Linked DNA regions of Homo sapiens: region 2 is linked to region 1. Evidence: promoter capture Hi-C in 16 types of primary human blood cells and fetal thymus (Javierre and others, 2016). All regions are on one chromosome and are shown on one strand. The core of a region is centred on a gene start or on the middle of the fragment in contact, and the rest is flanking DNA. Distances in the headings are between cores, read along the strand shown.

Region 1 (3,517 bases), core at 1,001-3,500:
AGTGGCGCGATGACGGCTCACTGCAACCTCCACCTCCTGGGTTCAAGCAGTTCTGCCTCAGCCTCCCAAGTAGCTGGGATTACAGGCCAGCTGGGATTACGCCGCCACACCTGGCTAATTGTATTTTTAGTAGAGACAGGGTTTCACCATGTTGGCCAGGCTGGTCTCAAACTCCTGACCTCCAGTGATCCACCTGCCTCAGCCTCCCAAAGTGCTGGGATTACAGGCATGAGCCGTCATGCCCGGCTTTCTTTTTGTTCTTCAAGAAAGGGAAGGAAAATAACATTGTCTTTGAGCCAGTTGCGTGTCGAGGAAATAAGGGTACCCCCCCACCACACCCCAACCCCCTCAGTGCCCTGGGGTTTGAAGCAAATGCTCAGAGGGCCTGGTAGGCGGATGGGCGTCTCCGGATGATGCAGAAAGCAATAAGCACCAGGGCGAGGAGGCCAAGAAGGATCAGGCCGATGATGAGAGGCAGCAAGATGGACCGGTCACTGGGGCAGGAGAAACCTGGCGGAAGGATAGGGCAGGTAGGTATTTGCAGTGACGTGCTGGTTGGGATAAAGGTGGGAGGAGGGAATGGGGGGATGCTGGGGAGTAGGAGATTGGTGAGGAGCTCACCGCAGTGACTCAGCAGTGATAAAAGGGGGAAACTGGCAGAGTCTTGTAGAGGATGGAAAGAAAGCTGCCCTGTAGCCATGACAAGCTGGGAGAGCGAGATTTGGGGGGTTAAGAAGAGAGATGAGTGGCTTATGGGCCTGGGGAAGGGGTTTTCAGTGCAGTGGGAGGATTCTAGGAGGGAAGGAGTAGGTAGGTCTTACTTTGCCCAAAGACCCCTGTGTGGGGCAGCTGAGCAGCCTGGAGCCTCAGGGAGAGCAGGTCGAGGTGGACAGCTGGTGAAAGAATGATGCTCGAGTTGCTGCAACTGAAGCTCTGCCCCAGGGGTGCTTGGAGATCTCGAAGGGATGCATTCTGAGCCGAGAATGTCCACTCTGGAGGAGTGAGGAAGGGTCAGATCCTATCCACCTCCCTGGCCCCAGCTTAGTCCTTTCAGGAACCCTGGCGTCTAGTGGTAGCAATGAGAAAGGGAAGGAGGTTACTTACGTGCTGCGTGGGGGAAGGACACATTGTACTCCACCGCCATGTAGCTCAGGTAGACAACCTTCTGCTGGAGGTCCTGTGGGGCGAAGAGGAAGGCGCAGGTGGTATCCCTCTCCACAGAGGAAGGAGTAGCGTGTGGGATTGGGAGGGGAGGGGCGCCGGGAGGCTGAGTGAGGGGTGAGACTGAGGTCATGGCTATACCTGCATGAATCCAAAGCTGAGGTGTCCATAGGGGAATGAGAGAAGCAGGTGGGGATGGGCACCCTCACAGCTTCCCTGGACCTTGGTTTTGTTGGGGTTCAGTACAGAGATGCCCCAGGCCTGCGGAAGTTAAAGACTGGAAGGTCACAAGACTGCATGCGATGCCGGCCAAGGTTCCCTGTCCCCTCTTCCTTCTTCCCTCTGAGCCTATATCCAGTCCTGCCTCCCTCCCCTCTCATCCCCCAGTTTTAGCTTTACCTCTCCTCCACCCTGGGTTGTGTACATGACTCGAATCTGAATCTGGGCTTGGAGGTGGACACAGGGCTGGGAACCATTGGTCCACGTGTAGTCTCCAATGGTCTCCTTGGAGGTTGGGCTAGGACTCGGAGAGGGTGGAGGTGGTTCTGGGTGGGCAGAACTGGTGAATCCTGGGCTGGTGGCAGTGCTGTTGCTTGTTGGATGAACCGTGGCATTTCCATGACTAGTGGTGGCAGGACTGTGAGTGGCAGTTGAGGGTCCCTGGCTGGTGGCAGTGCTATTGCTTGTTGGATGAACTGTGACGTTTCCATGGCTGGTGGTGGTGGGGTTGTGAGTGGCAGTCGTGGGTCCGTGGCTGGTGGTGCCTGTGGTGGTTGTCCTGTGAGTGGTGGTTTTGTGGCTCTTGGTAGTCCTGTGGCTGGTTGTTCCAGTGCTCTCTGTAACCGTGGGTGTCACCGTGAAGGATGGCAGCAAAGTAGCTGATTTTTTGTGAGGACAGTCATTCCCTGTCCCCTGGGCTTTTGGCAGAGAGGAGATGGTTAGCAACCCAGGGCAGGCTCCCTCCCAGGGGCCCCCTCCCCTCAGCCTCCTTCCTCCTTACCTGCCAGTAGCCCCAGCAGGGCCCCCGAGAAAAGCACAGCCAGCCTCATGGCTGAACCGCCTCACCCAAAGTCCAGCTAGGCTGTCTGCACCAGTTGCTCAACCCTGCTCCCTCAGCCCTCTCTTGGAAAGGAGGAAATGAAAGTCTCACTTCCTGTACTGGAGATGATCCCACCCACAGCCTGACTCAGGGGCCTCAGCTCTAGCCACCTCTCTCTTAGTCATTAGTTTTTGTAATTAAGTTAGGGGACTGTTGGCCCTGCTTCATCAGGGCAAAGTCAACAGTGTCACATGGGTGCAAACGGAGTCCTAGGGCAGTTGATCCACAGGGATCCATGTGTCAAACTCAGCGAAACTTGCTTGGCAGTTGTGGCAAGTAGCTATGGGAACAGCTGAGGTACAGGCCCCTCCCTTGGTGGGGAAATCGGTTTCCACTCCTTTCCCCTGGACCTCTGGGCTGACCCCTGTACTACTTCCTCTTGGCTGAGGCATGTGAGGGGCTTGTGACCATCCACACCCAGCCCTTTACAGAGGGGCAGCACTCCAGTCAGCATTGTCATTCACAGAGCCGAGAACATGGCTTTCCAGCGTCTGAGAACTCAGATGGTGACAAGAAAGCAACAGCCCAAAGGTAACCATCTGCTGGGGAAGGGGGGAGCAGAGATGCACCCAGTAGCAGGTGGGAGAGGGAAGGGGAGGTAAGAAATGAGAAGCCCAAACAGGCAGTTTCCAAGTCATTTTATTCAGAATTTTGTGTTTGTTTCCTGAATCAATAAATACTATACAAAACAATGTAAAAATGGCTACCATTTTCTCTCCCCTGCTTCCCCCCACCTGGGGACAACCCCCTGGGCAACCTCACTTAGGGGTTTTAGGGGTTCTCCCTCCAGATTTGGTCCAGCAAATGAGGCTGAGTGACATAGTCCCTTGAATCACTTTCAAAGGAGCTCAGCTGAGGTGAGGAGAGCCTCTGGGATCTGGAGGTTACTAGGTTAGGGAAATGGATTAGTGTTTTTTTTTTTTTTTTGGGAGAAGAGCCGGCGCCTGGGGCAAGAGCCTACCCCAAAGAAAAGGGTGTCTAAAATGTTCACGGTTCCTTCTTTTGCCTCAAAAAGTGACATTTATTCAAAGAAAAAAAATGACAAGATGTCCATCCCTTGGCTCCCTTCCCTCCCCCCTCCTGCTGCTCCTCAGCCCCCAGAGATTGAGCCCTGGCTGGGGCTGGGTGGCAGGACAGCCCCTCAGATGAGGTCAGCAACATTGAGGGGCATTTCCTCAATGGAGGTGTTGTAGAAGGTCTCAATGTCTCGAAGAGTCCTCTTGTCTTCTTCTGTCACCATGTTAATAGCCACACCTT
Region 2 (3,447 bases), core at 351-2,850, 200 kb after region 1:
TTAAGCTCCTCAAGGATGGGCCAGTAAAACTGGGCCAACTGGATGTCCCGGAGCAGCTTCAGTAGCCACAGGGAGCCAGCCTCAGGAAGCATGTCTGGAGAAGGAGTTCCTAAGGATGATGGCACTCTCCTTCAGATGGTGAGCTCAGGGTAGGCCCTAGAGAGACCAGGTCTCCAGCTCCACCTGCAAGTCATTAGAAACACTCAGGTACAGAGGCAGGGACACAGCAGAGACAGCCAGGATCCCTGCCACTCACGCACACAAATCCCAGATAGAATGTTCCCCGTGCCCAGGCATCCGGGTACTCTGTCCCTTCACCGCTGAGTAACCTGCCCTGCTCACACCTGCAATTTTAGCATACTGCCTGCTCCTACTACAGACTCCAGGTATGTTACCATCCTGACTCTGAAATATCACGGCACATCACACACCCGGACACCCAGAAACACTGCCCTTTTAGACCTGAGCTACGCAGTGGCACAAACTCACTCATACACACCTGAGACGACATCTCCCTTCCTCCAACATGAGACATCTCCCTTCCTCCAACATGAGACATGTTTGCCTACCACACACACTGGAGATGCTCAGATATGACAACCACACCATACCTCAGACATGTAGGTAGAGCACGCACACACACGAAGGTACACTGCCTCCCACATGCTGCCACACACACACACTGAGACCTACAGATATACTGCAAAACATGGCCGAGACTCCCAAATACATGTCCTCTTTTTTTTTTTTTTTGAGACGGAGTCTCGCTCTGTCATCTAGGCTGGAATGCAGTGGCGTGATCTCAGCTCGCTGCAACCTCCGCCTCCCGGGTTCAAGCAATTCTTCTGCCTCAGCCTCCCAAGTAGCTGGGACTACAGGCGCGTGCCACCATGCCCGGCTATTTTTTGTATTTTTAGTAGAGATGGGGTTTCACCATATTGGCCAGGCTGGTCTTGAACTCCTGACCTCGTGATCCGCCCGCCTCGGCCACCCAAAGTGCTGGGATTACAGGCGTGAGCCACTGCGCCCGGCCGATATATGTCGTCTTAACGCTGAGACATTTCAGCATGCGGCCACAAAACGCCCAGGCTCATCTGTGTCCTTCCATGAGATGTTCCTTGTACATACGTGTCACATCCATGGGACATGGCAGTTCACTGCCTCCAAACACCTAGATACACTGCCCCACACGGCTAAGACACAAAGGTCCACATGAACACAACACACAGACATCGAGGTACAGTGTGCACACAGCATACCTGAGCTATGGGGGCATAGGGACCCCTCAAGCCAAAAGAGGTCCACAGTCATTGCCTCTCCTCCACCGGAGGCAGCAACATTTGAAATCAAATCAGGCACTTGTGATGGCCGCTAGGCTTAGGTGCTGCCTATGGAGCCACTGAGGCTGTCAGGTACACAGTCCCACACCTACCTGAGCTCAGCCCCAGGCACAGATGCCTGCTGGCAGCCTGAGTCACTCGGTCTAACTTGGCTTCAAGGCAACTCCACCAACCTTTGTTAAATAAGGCTCTGGGCCTCTGGGTACTGGCAGCCTGCTCACACTTTCCCTAGCACACTCCTGGACCCGTCCCTTCCCCTACATTATAAGCAAGGAGGAAGAAGAGGATCGAGGCTGGGCCTAGTTGGAAACGCGCAGGTGGACTCAGAACCGGGCGCGAACAGGGTTGGGTTGGGAAGGAGAAAGCCCAGGACCCTGGGGGACCCGGCCCTGCGCGCTCGGTGGGAAGCGGGGAGCGCAGAAGGGAGACAGGAGGAAGCGCGGCTGCGGGAGGGAAGGACGCAGGAGAAGAGGACAGGCCCAGCGCCCCCCGGACGCGCCCCCAGCGACGGCTGCTCCGCCGGCTCTCCCCAGCCCGGGCCCCCTGCTCGGTCCGGACCCTCACCTGGTCAAGGCGGAAGCGGCGACTGCGGAACCTCCCAGGCTGCCTGGGCTAAATCCGAGGAGGCGGGACAGGAGTAAATCCCGCGGAGGGCGGGGACCTGGCCGCTGGCCCGGGGCCGGCGAGGGCCGCACCCCGAGTTCCCTAGTGGGACAAGGTGACGGTCCCCAGGGCGACTGGCGGCCCCTCCCTCCTCCAGACCAGATCGCCCCGACTGTGAGAAGCCCCCTTCCCTTCTCCTCTGCTCGTCTTCCTTCACGTCTTTCCAGCCTTCTCCGAATAGCTTCCCAGCCCTCCCCAGACTTCACTCCTCTGTCTCTGTCCCCCATGCCCTCTCGCCAAATCCTTCACCTCTCAGCCAGGACCCTACCTCTTACATGAATAAGCGCCCGATAGAGCTATCCTGTCCACGCACAGGGAATATAAGGCTAAATAGGACACAGTTCCTGCCCCATGGCAGGGGGTTCAGAGCTTCCTAGCAGGCTTTACTTAATGAACCCTGGAATGGGGCCAGGGCAGAGAGATGTTGATGCTGGTACGGAGAGTTGGCCCTGGCCTAGACAGAGTCTACAGTTGAAGCTGTTGTTGATCACCGGCAGCATTCCATGCCTCAGGGCACGCTTCCCCATTACTGACACTCCTGGGCTTCCTTCCAGCGTAACGCCTGCTCTCCATGCAAGCTCTGCAGAACTCAGGGCCCTGCACACTGCTACCTAGCCTGTGGCCACTGGGACTAAGTCCAGGACCTTGAAGAAGGCCCTGAGGAGGACCATTTGTCTCCGCTTCTCTCAGGGGTCCCAGAGAGGAAGCTGCCAGTCTTAGGACATCTAGTCTGTCCCCTGTCCCAAGGAAGGACGCGTGAACATAGCAGCTGCTGTCCCAAGGGTCCCTTGGAGGGAAAAGCCCTCCTGGTCTTGGTAAACATGTAGGATGTTTGATCCCAACTGCCACCTCCACGTTTCCCAGCCTCGGGTCCTCTTCTTCCTCCTTGCTTATAATGTGGGGTAAGGGAGGGGTCCAGATGTCTGTAAGGGAAAGTGTGAGCAGGCAGCCAGTACCCAGAGACCCAGAGCCTTATTTAATAAAGGCTGGTGGAGTTGCCTTGAAACCAAGTTAGACCGAGTGACTCTCAGGCTGCCAGCAAGGATCTGTGCTTGGGGGCCAGTCCCTGTGTGGATCCTACGTGGGATAGGAAAATCTTCATAATGCTGTTCTATGGTATTGTTTTCTTGCCGATTCTTTTGCCCTCCAACCAGGATCGCTCATCACACTATAATTGTTACTGCACATCTGCGATCCCTGTTAGAGGTTCTGTAGCTCCACAGGGTAGGGGCTGGGCCTGGCTTGTTCATACTTGTGTTCTAAGTACCTAGGACAGTGTGGGCATATAATAGGCCTGATACATGTTGGTTGTAAAGAAGTCTCCTCAGTCTAATCCTCATTGTTGTGTAGATGATCTCTTTTTACTCCCTGCTTTTAAGATATCATTGGTGTTTTGTAGTTTTGTCACAATGTATCTAGATGTTTATTTATTCTATTTATTCTG

What was found. Contacts are between HindIII fragments. The CHiCAGO score rates a contact against its expected background, and 5 or more counts as called.
Region 2: a fragment that was not itself captured here is called in contact with the fragment with the promoter of CD68 in region 1 in 2 of 17 cell types (total CD8 T cells and total B cells); the score reaches 6.3 in total CD8 T cells.

The regions. Positions count from the first base shown.
Region 1 is chr17:7,578,371-7,581,887 of GRCh38, reverse strand. It overlaps CD68 (CD68 molecule), which reads right to left and starts at 2,250. Exons shown (of 6, transcript NM_001251.3): 1 at 2,162-2,250; 2 at 1,561-2,078; 3 at 1,303-1,422; 4 at 1,105-1,177; 5 at 822-992; 6 at 1-510. The coding sequence starts at 2,210. The coding sequence ends at 377. It overlaps EIF4A1 (eukaryotic translation initiation factor 4A1), which reads right to left. Exons shown (of 11, transcript NM_001416.4): 11 at 2,882-3,517. The coding sequence ends at 3,402. SENP3-EIF4A1 (SENP3-EIF4A1 readthrough (NMD candidate)) reads right to left here. Exons shown (of 22, transcript NR_037926.1): 22 at 2,882-3,517. RefSeq lists enhancers at 1,356-1,425, 1,526-1,585 and a silencer at 3,061-3,249. The HindIII fragment of the contact is 9,128 bases long and covers 1-3,517 here.
Region 2 is chr17:7,379,572-7,383,018 of GRCh38, reverse strand. TNK1 (tyrosine kinase non receptor 1) reads right to left here and starts at 1,930. Exons shown (of 13, transcript NM_003985.6): 1 at 1,905-1,930; 2 at 1-183. The coding sequence starts at 92. RefSeq lists an enhancer at 1,912-2,412. The HindIII fragment of the contact is 9,212 bases long and covers 1-3,447 here.